3 separate regions of the Homo sapiens genome follow, and regions 1 and 3 are each linked to region 2. Evidence: promoter capture Hi-C in 16 types of primary human blood cells and fetal thymus (Javierre and others, 2016). All regions are on one chromosome and are shown on one strand. The core of a region is centred on a gene start or on the middle of the fragment in contact, and the rest is flanking DNA. Distances in the headings are between cores, read along the strand shown. Region 1 has its middle 18 kb from the start of HVCN1. Region 2 holds the start of TCTN1 (tectonic family member 1). Region 3 holds the start of HVCN1 (hydrogen voltage gated channel 1).

Region 1 (3,690 bases), core at 66-2,565, 93 kb before region 2:
CAGGTGTAAGCCACCATGCCCAGACCCACTTGACATTTTTCAGATCATACAAGTCTCATGAAATTAGGCCACAAACCTGCAGATCCTGGTTGTGAATTCTCAGGAGAAAATTGTTTTGCCAAGAGTAATGGAGATCCCATTGGTAATAACTGTAATATTTTCATTGTGCATGTGTTTGTTTTGATGAATAAACATTGGAGTCATATATATCTTTCAGCCATGAGAGAACTTTCTGAGTTGCTAATAGTTTCTAAACAATATAGATAGATGGGTGAGATTCCATTTAAGCTTTCTATTCCTTTAAGAGCCAATTGTTGTAAAGAAGTAGGAAACTAACTCAAAACTATACTAAGGTTTTCTGCAAACTATGCAGCTCAACCTAGCTGTTACAGAAGCAGGGTACCCCTTTCTGTAGTGAGTTGGTGGATTCATGTAGCTAGTTACACTGGCACCCCAGTCTACAGAAGCCCACAGGGGCAGCTTCTGGAAGCTGTTGCTTCTCTTGAGAGGCCATACTGGGCAGTGGTTAAAGCCTGGGGTTTGCAGCCAGTGGCCCAGGTGGGAATCCTGACTCTTGCATTCTGGTTGTGTGTGACCTTGGGCAAATCCCTTAATCTCCCTGTGCCTCAGTGCTTCCCTTGTAAAACAGGGATAGCAGCATCTGACTTCAAGCTATGCTACAAGGTTATAGTAACCAAAACAGCATGGTACTGGTACCAAAACAGATATATAGACCAATGGAACAGAACAGAGGCCTCAGAAATAACACCACACATTTACAACCATCTGACCTTTGACAAACCTGACAAAAACAAGAAATGGGAAAAGGATTCCCTATTTAATAAATGGTGCTGGGAAAACTGGCTAGCCATATGCAGAAAGCTGAAACTGGATCCCTTCCTTACACCTTATACAAAAATTACCTCAAGATGGATTAAATATTTCAGTGTAAGATCTAAAACCATACAAACCCTAGAAGAAAACCTAGACAATACCATTCAGGACATAGGCATGGGCAAAGACTTCATGACTAAAACACCAAAAACAATGGCAACAAAAAAAGCCAAAATAGACAAATGGGATCTAATTAAACTAAAGAGCTTCTGCACAGCAAAATAAAATATCAGCGTGAACAGGCAACCTACAGAATGGGAGAAAATTTTTGCAATCTACCCATCTGACAAAGGGCTAATATCCAGAATCTACAAAGAACTTAAATTTACAAGAAAAAACCCCATCAAAAAGTGAGCAAAGGATATGAACAGACACTTCTCAAAAGAAGACATTTGTGCAGCCAACAGACGCATGAAAAATGCTCATCATCACTGGTCATCAGAGAAATGCAAATCAAAACCACAATGAGATACCATCTCACACCAGTTAGAATTGCGATCATTAAAAAGTGAGGAAACAACAGGTGCTGGAGAGGATGTGGAGAAATAGGAACACTTTTACACTGTTGGTGGGACTGTAAATTAGTTCATCCATTGTGGAAGACAGTGTGGCGATTCCTCAAGGATCTAGAACTAGAAATACCATTTGACCCAGTGATCCCATTACTGGGTATATACCCAAAGGATTATAAATCATTCTACTATAAAGACACATGCACACATATGTTTACTGCAGCACTACTCCCAATAGCAAAGACTTGGAACCAACCCAAATGTTCATCAATGATAGACTGGATTAAGAAAATGTGGCACATATACACCATGGAATGCTATGCAGCCATAAAAAGGATGAGTTCATGTCCTTTGAAGGGACATGGATGAATCTGGAAACCATCATTCTCAACAAACTAACACAGGAACAGAAAACCAAACATTGCATGTTCTCACTCGTAAGTGGGAGTTGAACAATGAGAACACATGGACACAGGGTGGGGAACATCACACACAGGGGCCTGTCGGGGGGTGGGGGGTTGGGGGAGGGATAGCATTAGGAGAAATACCTAATGTAAATGTCGAGTTGATGGGTGCAGCAAGCCAACATGGCACATGTATACCTATGTAACAAACCTGCACATTGTGCACATGTACCCTAGAACTTAAAGTATAATAATAATAAAAAAATAGGGATAGCAGCATCTATATCAATGGTTACTCTGAGACTAAATAAATTAGTACATGGAAAGAACCCAGACACATAATAGGCAGCAAATATTAGGTATTATTTTTATTGTTTGACTATTTCCTGCCACCAAATCCAGGTAGCACTGATGAAAGGTGTAAAACACAGTAACAACAAAACAAGAACTCCATCCCCCTACCATCATGTAGCTGATAGTTTGCTAAAAGCACAGTTAGGAAATTCTGTTCCACAGAGATCCACAAGCTTTCCAGAAGTAACACAGAGCCAACTAGGAAACTGAAGGAAAAGTAATTTCTTTTTTTCCTTTTTTTTTTTTTTTTTTTTTTTTTGAGGCAGAGTCTCGCTGTCACCCAGGCTGGAGTGCAGTGGCACGATCTCGGCTCACTGCAAGCTCCGCCTCCCAGGTTCATGCCATTCTCCTGCCTCAGCCTCCCGAGTAGCTGGGACTACAGGCGCCCTCCATCACGCCTGGCTAATTTTTTGTGTTTTTAGTAGAGACATGGTTTCACCGTGTTAGCCAGGATGGTCTTGATCTCCTGACCTCATGATCCACCTGCCTCGGCCTCCCAAAGTGCTGGGATTACAGGCGTGAGCCACCGCGCCCAGCCAGGAAAGTAATTTCATGCAGTCAACAAATCAATTACTGGTTCTTTTTGAAACAGGGTCTCACTCTGTCTCCCAGGCTGGATTGCCCTGGTGCACTCACAGCTCACGGTAGCCTTGATGTCAAGCGATCCTCCTACCCTCCCACCTCAGCCTCCCAGATTCTTTTCTTTTCTTTTAGCATATTTTAACATTTTAAATTAATTTTTTAATAAATGTTATAGCATGTAAATCATGGTTTAAAGATCCAAATACTCCTATGCATGGAGTGGGGGCAAAGGGTATATGAGAAATCTCTGTACCTTCCTTTCAATTTTGCCATGAACATAAAAGCACTGTAAACAATTTTTTTTTTTTTTTTGAGACAGTGTCTTGCTCTGTTGCGCAGGCTTGGAGTGCAGTGGTGCAATCACGACTCACTGCAGCCTCAACCTCCCAGGCTCAAGCAATCCCCCCACCTCAGCCTCCCGAACCTGAGGTGAGGGTCTCTCCATGTTGCCCAGGCTGGAAAACAGTCTTTTAAAACAAAAATGCAGACACTTTAAAATGTGAAATTAAATTGTCCCTTTGCCCCTGATCCCTCCCCAGAGGAAACTGTCCCTGTTTGTTTTTTGTGCCAGCGTGTATAAGTACCTATCTTCCTAACAAATGACATCGAGTCATTGTTTTCATTACTTACTGTATCTTGTAGATTTCCCATATTAATACATTGTAGAGCTCTATTTCATTCTATTCTTTCAACTCAGCCCCTGATTCTAATTTTTCAAAAAGCTTATTGAAATAAGGTTCTTCTTCACTTCATTGAAAATAGAGAAGCGTGAAGCCAAAAGTACAATAGAAAAAACGTGTGTGGGGAAAAAAAACCGTATGATCAGACATGGGGACCTGTTTTATGCCATCACAGCTGACAGTGTTTACCTGGAAACGTTTGTTCTTTGTAACAAGCTTCTTTCCCAGCCTGCCTCCTGGAGGTGAACATGTGCAGGTGGAGAA
Region 2 (3,619 bases), core at 270-2,769:
AAAAAGCAAGCTGGGGGAGCACGCCTGTGGTTCCAGCTACTCTGGAGGCTGAGGCAGAAGGATCCCTTGAGCCCAGCAGATTGAGACTTAAGTGAGATATAATCACGCCACTGCACTCCAGCCTGGGTAACAGAGCGAGACCTTGTCTCAAAAACAAAAAAAGAATAAAAAAAGATTAAAAGTACTGCATATCTATTGGGGTTACTCTCAATTCACACAATCGGAAAATTTTAAAAACTTTTTTTGAGATCATGAACCACTTTAAGAATCGGCTGCTATGAACTCTCATCTCAGGAAAAGGCATATTCACAAAGTTTTGCACTCAATCTTAGCGGGTCACAGTCATTCAGTGAAGTCATCCATGTCAATTTTTTTTTTTGAGACAGTCTTGCTCTGTCGCCCAGTCTGGAGTGCAGTGGTAATTACTGCAACCTCTGCCTCCTGGGTTCAAGCGAGTCTCCTGCCTCAGCCTCCCGAGTAGCTAGGATTACACCATGCCCGGCTATTTTTTCTATTTTTAGTAGAGACTGGGTTTCGCCATTTTGACCAGACTGATCTTGAACTCCTACCTCAAGCAATCCACCCGAGTTGACCTCCCAAAGTGCTGGGATTACAGGCGTGAGCCACGGCGCCAGCCAAACGTCAAATTAGATTATAAAATATTTCCACTAAATGTGTAATTCTAGAATTAATCATTTTCTGAAAAAAATGTTAATTATCCCTACATATGACTCCTAAGAAGTGAGCATAACCCCTCCCTCAATAGCTTTCCACCTCCAATTCAACACAGGAGGAATCCTGGGTTTTTAGAATTCAGGTCAACAGAGAAGGGTCTTAACATAGTCACATTTAGTAAGATAGACCTTTGGCCTCTCTTTAAGTGAAAGTTCAGTGCAGCCAAGGCACTAATTTCCACCATTGTCTCGACTTAATTTCGTCTTGGGCTGCAAGAATTCATTATTGCTCTTTGCATCACTGTTGTCTGGGACCACTTCAAGTATTTTCAAAGGTTTGATACCGTTCCACTTAAACTCTGAGACCCGGTTTTCTCATTTACCTGACAGTGATAGTAACAGCTACTTCTCAGGGTTATTGTTTAGAGAATGGACGTTTATGGAACACTCAGCAGTGTCTGCACACAGTAAGTGCTCAATAAGAGTTAGCTATCATTATTACGTCCTCACCGGGGCTGTCCCCTTGAGGTTGGATCACTGTGGACTCCAGGAGCTGGCACATGGTACCCACCGTCCGTGACTGGGGTAGGCCTGGGGCCGGAGGAGGGCCCTGGAGCCCTGGGAGTCCCGGGGGGCCTGGTCGACGGGAAAGTTCCGAAGGTGGCCAGGGCTGCCTCGGTGGAGTTGAGGCCCTCTGTCGTCACCGCCGGGGTGGCATCGGTCTGGGCGCTCACGGAGGCCCAGCAGCCCAGGAGCACCACCAGGAGCGGCGGGAGACCTCGCGGCCTCATCTCCCAGGGAGTCCCAGCGAGGCCCGCGACATGGACAGCGCGTTGCCCGGCAACCGCGACAGCCAGGCGCGGGGCATCACGGGAAGGGGCTTGCGAAGCCGCGAGAAGCTGCCGGAGACTGACTGGGGCGAAGCCTGGATGAGGCAGGGGGCGGATCCCGGATGAGGCCGGAGGGCGGCGCCTGGGTGAGGCAGCGATGGCAGGCACAGGGGCGAGCACTAGTGAGCGGGTGTGAAGCTGGCGTAAACGAGGGGCGTGTAAATCCCGGCTGTGGTTTCCAACCGGTCCGCGGCGCTTGCTTAAAAAATGCAGATTTTCTGTAGTTCCAGCTACTCGGGAGGCTGAGGCAGAAGAATCGCTTGAACCCGGGAGGTGAAGGCTACAGAGAGCCGTGAGCGTGCCACTGCACTCCAGCCTGGGCGACAGTGTGACACTCTGTCTCAACCAAAAAAAAAAAAAAAAAAAAAAAAGACGGATTTCCAGGTACCACCTCAGGAGATCCTGAGTCAGTTAGTCTAGGGCAGGACCCAGGAATCAGTTTTTGGGGGATTTTTTTTGAGACAGGGTCTCACTCTGTCGCCCAGGCTGGAGTGCAGTAGCGCGATCTCGGCTCACTGCAGCCTCGACCTCTGGGACTCAAGCAATCCTCCCACTTCAGCCTCCTGAGTAGCTGGGAACTCAGGCGCGCGCCACCATACCCAGCTAATTTTTGTATTTTTTTTTTTTTTTTTTTTTTTTTGTAAAGACGAGGTCTCCCTCCGTCGCCCGGACTGGTATCGAACTCCTGGTTCAAGTGATCCACCTGCTCCAGCCTCCTGAGTCCTGAGTAGTTGGGATTACAGGCGTGAGCCACCACTCCCAGCCAGGAATAAATATTTTTAACAAATGTCCGGACGCAAGCAGATGAGTTGGACGGAAATTTAGGAAGCGCCGTCCCAACGCCACTAACGTGGGTGTTTGGAAGGAGCACAGGGATCTGTGAGATCACTGTCTCTGAATTTTCTCTATCCCAGACTCTGTCAACACTGGCTTCACCTTTTTATTTTAGCTGCATCTCACAAGGTTGCCAGATAACTTCTGTCTGCTGTATTGTGATAAAGGGGACAAATGAACACTTAATACCTTTTATTATTTTTTGTAGAGAGGGGGTCTCACTATGTTGATCAGGCTAGTCACAAACTCCTGGCCTCAAGTGATCCTCCCGCCTCAGCCTCCCAAAGAGCTAGGATTACAGGCATGAGCCACCACGCCAGGCCTAAGAACCTATTTAAAGACAAAAATCTTTTACAAAAATTAAGTAAAATAATTTAGACATCTTAAAGGGGAAAACAAAGCAAATCCACTGTAATGCTACAAAACGACCTGGAGACCCTACGATTTAGGAAACCCTCTCCATTCTGAATGGGCTTATTTAGGAGGTACCCAAGCCCAAGAATGTTGGCTGCACCTTTGACACTTAATCTCCATACAGTTCAGAAGTAGATGTCGAAGTACTTAGACGTGGCCAGGCACAGTGGCTCACACCTGTACTCCCAGCCCTTTGGGAGGATCGCTTGAGTCCAGGAGTTGAGACCAGCCTGGGCAACATGGTGAAACCACATCTCTACAAAAAATACAAAAATTAGCCAGGTATGGTGGCACATTCCTGTAGTCCCAGCTACTCAGGAGGCTGAGGTGGAAGGATCGCCTCAGTCTGGAGAGCTTGAGGCTGCAGTAAGCCATGATAGTGCCACTGCACTCCAAAACAAAAAAACCTTAAACATAACACAGTATTTATTCAAGAAATGTATATACCAATTCAAAAGGATGTCAAACAGTATATATATCTAGTTTATTAAATGTATTTAGCAAAACTAAATCATCAAAGTGATATCTTTAGCACCTTCCTGTGGCATTCCAGAGACAGTGTATAAAAATATAATTGAATCACTCAAATGTGTAAGACAGATACTTCTTTTTTTCTGCAAAGGATTGCTTTAGCATCTGACTGAAATTCTGGACTGCTTTTAATAACTGATTAAATGCTTCCCCTTTTAAAAAAAATAACCAAAAGTAGGCCGGGCATGGTGGCTCACGCCTGTAATCCCAGCACTTTGGGAGGCTGAGGCGGGTGGATCACGAGGTCAAGAGATCAAGACCACCCTGGCCAACATG
Region 3 (3,553 bases), core at 415-2,914, 76 kb before region 2:
GGAGGCCGAGGAGGACGGAGCACGAGGTCAGGAGATCGAGACCATCCTGGTTAACACGGTGAAACCCCGTCTCTACTAAAAATACAAAACATTTAACCGAGCGTGGTGGCGGGCGCCTGTAGTCCCAGCTACTCAGGAGGCTGGGGCAGGAGAATGGCATGAACCTGGGAGGCGGAGCTTGCAGTGAGCCGAGGTCGCGCCACTGCACTCCAGCCTGGGTGACAGAGCGCGACTCCACCTCAAAAAGAAAAAAGAAAGCCTGCTGCAGTCCAGGCATGGTGTTTCACGCCTGTAATCCCAGCACTTTGGGAGGCCGAGGCAGGCGGATCACTTGAGGTCAGAAGTTCGAGACCAGCCTGACCAGCATGGAGAAACCCTGTCTCTACTAAAAAAACAAAAATTAGCCAGGCGTGGTGGCAGGCACCTGTAATCCCAGCTACTCAGGAAGCTGAGGCAGGAGAATTGCTTGAACTCAGGAGGCAGAGGTTGCACTGAGCCAAGATCATGCCATTGCACCCCAGCCTGGGCCACAGAGTGAGACTGTTGCCGGGTGGAGTGGCTCACACCTGTAATCCCAGCACCTTCGGAGGCCAAGGCAGGCAGATCACTTGAGGTCAGGAGTTCGAGACCAGTCTGACCCACATGGTAAAACCCCGTCTCTACTAAAAATACAAAAATTAGTCAGGCATGGTGATGCTGGCCTGTAATCATAGCTACTCGGGAGGCTTGAGGCAGGAGAATTGCTTGAACCCAGGAGGCGGAGGTTGCAGTAAGCCAAGATCGCACCACTGCACTCCAGGCTGGACGACAGTGAGACTCCGTTCCAAAAAAAAGAAAAAAGAAAAGAAAGCCAGCTGCCCAGCAGAATTGGGGAAAGCCGAGTCAGTTGAAGCAGACAATACCCCTATGGGAGGCAGAAGAATGCACCCCCCTACCAAGATATCCACATCCTAACCCCTCCAAACCTGTATGTTGCCTTAAGTGGCAAAGGGGACTTTGCACATGTGGCTATGTGAAGGATCCTGAGCTGGAGAGATTAGCCTGGATTATCCAGGTGGATCCCATATAATCACAGGGCTCCTTAGAAGGGAGAAGACGCTGTGACCATGGAGGCAGAGGTCGGATTGAGACAGCCAAGGATCACAGGCACCTCTCCAGCCGGGAAAAGCAAGGAACACACTACCCTGGCGCCTCCAGAAGGCACAGCCCCACCCACACCTTGATTCTGGCCCTGTAGGACCCATCTGAGACTTCTGGCCTCCAGGGCTGTAAGATAACACATTTGTGTTAAGCCACTAGGTTTGTGGTGATCTGTTAACAGCGGCATGAGGAAACTAACACAACCCCAAGGAGGTGAGCCTCTCCCCACAGCCCCGACTCAACCGGAAGGGAGAGGTGTGCAGAAGACGGCTTTGCAGGATGTTTGGGACAAATGGTCTCTGGGGGAAGACAGAAGCTAACAGAACTGATTCGACTGTGTGAACAGGGTGCTGGGAGGGCCCACAGGGGAGGGACTTCAGAGCTGGGCCTGCGCCTGCGGGGCCGTACGAGTTGGCCCGGAGCAAGGCGGCCCAGGACAGGCAGGGGCTGCACGCGGTAAGGCTCCCTCTTGCCAGTACCATCCCATGAGCAGCCTCAGAGCCCTCGACCAAGGGAAGTTCTGAGGGCTGAGAGGTTGCTCATTCGTCAGAGCGTGCTGCCCACCCTCCACCCCTGCATGGCAGAAACTGTGCAGGGGACGAGGCCAAGGAATCAGGAGACCCAGAGGCAGGGGTGGCCCGGAGACGGTGGGATGGAGCAGAAGCTCCCCGAAAGGGGTTGGCGGGGTGGATTCGCCCCGCTCCAGCCGGCGGAGGAAGGAAGTGGTTCCCCCGCCCACCCTTCCCTTAGGCTGGCCCGGGGCAGGATTTTTGTGATCCGCGATTCGCTCCCACGGGCGGGACCTTTGTAACTGCGGGAGGCCCAGGACAGGCCCACCCTGCGGGGCGGGAGGCAGCCGGGGTGAGGGAGGTAGGGACGAACGGGTGGACTGACCACAGGCAGGGACAAGGGGACTAAGACCCGGGCCGAGGCCTAGAAGCCCGCCGACCGTTGGGGGTCTGCGGGCTGTGGGGGCGGGGACGGGGGCGGGGGCGGCCCGGGCGGGGGCGGGGCCTGGTACGGTACGGGGCGGGACGGGCTGGGCCGGACCTGCTCTGAGGCTCCCAGTCGCAGCGGTGACCGCGGGCGGGTGGGGCGCCGGGTAAGTGCTCGGGCCGGGCGGGGGGCGTACCCCGTTTGGCGTGCAGCCCTTTCTACAAGACCCCCAGTGCCCGATCCTTCCGAGAAGAGGGGACCCCCCCCCGCATCTCCGCTGTCCAGGCCTCGCCGTGGAGCCCCAGCAGGACCCCAGCCCTCGGTTGCCCTCGGCTCTGGCGTGTCCCGGCGCGGGCGGGCAGTGCTTCCCCTCGGCAGGGACTGGAGTCCAGGGGAGGGGAACGCGGGAGACGCTGGCCCTAGTGACCCCCCGATCCCGGAGAGTTGGTGGTGCGCGCCGCCCTGGGCCAGGTGCCTTCAGTTCTTCACACTCCGCGCAGCAGCCACAGGTGACCATCGTCGTCTCCCTCTTAACAGGTGAAGAAACCAAGACGCAGAGAGGCCAAGCCCCTTGCCTTGGGTCACACAGCCAAAGGAGGCAGAGCCAGAACTCACAACCAGGTCTGTGTCCCCTAAGTCCTCGGATGCATCGTCCCTGCCCCGCTGCCCTCCCGGGAGATTGTAGGAGAGAAGCAGGGGCAGAGGCAGTGCTGGATGTCCCGGGAGAAGGCTGCAATGAGCAGGCCCAGCCATCCCTGAAGGAGGAGCCCCGGGGAAGCAAACTCTTCCCTAGAAACACTTTAAAAGCACCCACCTGTTGGAGACAGAGATGCTGAGGAACAAGAGTGATTGGGGCCAGGGTAAACGCCAAGACAGAGAGGGGAGAGCAGTTCCTCAGTGGAACTCCCTCCAACATTGCCCCCACCACTTTTACCAGTGCTGGGTGTGGGGGATCTTGCAGGCTCAGCTTCGTGACTTGGCCTGTCTCTGCCTCAGTTTCCGCATCTGTCCCATGAGGTTAAGCATGTACCTACCTCGCAGGATTGCTGAGAAGATGATATAAGATGCTTGGTGTACAGGCTTAGCCCCTGGCACCAGGTTACTACCAAAAGTTCATGGTTCCAGTGCTTCCTCCACCCTCCGTCCTGCCCCTCTGAGAGTACTTCTCTGTCCTGGGCACCTTTAACTTCAGGTTGTTCAGGGCTATCTGAGATCTGCAGGATTTCCGGACAGCCCCACCAGCAACTAGGAGCTGCTTGAGTAAGACCAAGGTGAGGGGGTGGCAACTTCTCTGGCTGACTCCCCAGAGGGAAAGGCTGATAAGGGCAGGGTTTTGAAAATCTCTGGGCTGAGGCTTGCACAAGGTCCAGAGCTGCTCTGTGGCCCCTGCCCTCCCCGACACAGGTTTAGCAAGAAGGAGAAAGCCAGAGTGTTCTTGTCCCCAGACTTGATCCTTTGCTAGTCATTGGGGCTTGGG

The links. Contacts are between HindIII fragments. The CHiCAGO score rates a contact against its expected background, and 5 or more counts as called.
Region 1: a contact is called between a fragment that was not itself captured here and the fragment with the promoter of TCTN1 in region 2, in 2 of 17 cell types (total B cells and naive B cells). The highest score is 14.1, in total B cells.
Region 3: a contact is called between a fragment that was not itself captured here and the fragment with the promoter of TCTN1 in region 2, in 2 of 17 cell types (total B cells and naive B cells). The highest score is 10.8, in total B cells.

What each region holds. Positions count from the first base shown.
Region 1 is chr12:110,704,902-110,708,591 of GRCh38, reverse strand. It overlaps a transcript of HVCN1 not described here and a transcript of PPP1CC not described here. Among named protein-coding and RNA genes, the nearest start is that of HVCN1, 18 kb to the right of the region's middle. The HindIII fragment of the contact is 2,049 bases long and covers 291-2,339 here.
Region 2 is chr12:110,612,029-110,615,647 of GRCh38, reverse strand. TCTN1 (tectonic family member 1) reads right to left here and starts at 1,519. Exons shown (of 15, transcript NM_001082538.3): 1 at 1,246-1,519. The coding sequence starts at 1,465. RefSeq lists an enhancer at 1,193-1,242. The HindIII fragment of the contact is 6,908 bases long and covers 1-3,619 here.
Region 3 is chr12:110,687,769-110,691,321 of GRCh38, reverse strand. HVCN1 (hydrogen voltage gated channel 1) reads left to right here and starts at 2,207. Exons shown (of 8, transcript NM_032369.4): 1 at 2,207-2,242; 2 at 2,614-2,697. RefSeq lists enhancers at 487-636, 1,167-1,276, 1,397-1,446, 2,697-2,746, 3,309-3,553 and silencers at 1,887-1,956, 2,017-2,516. The HindIII fragment of the contact is 8,396 bases long and covers 1-3,553 here.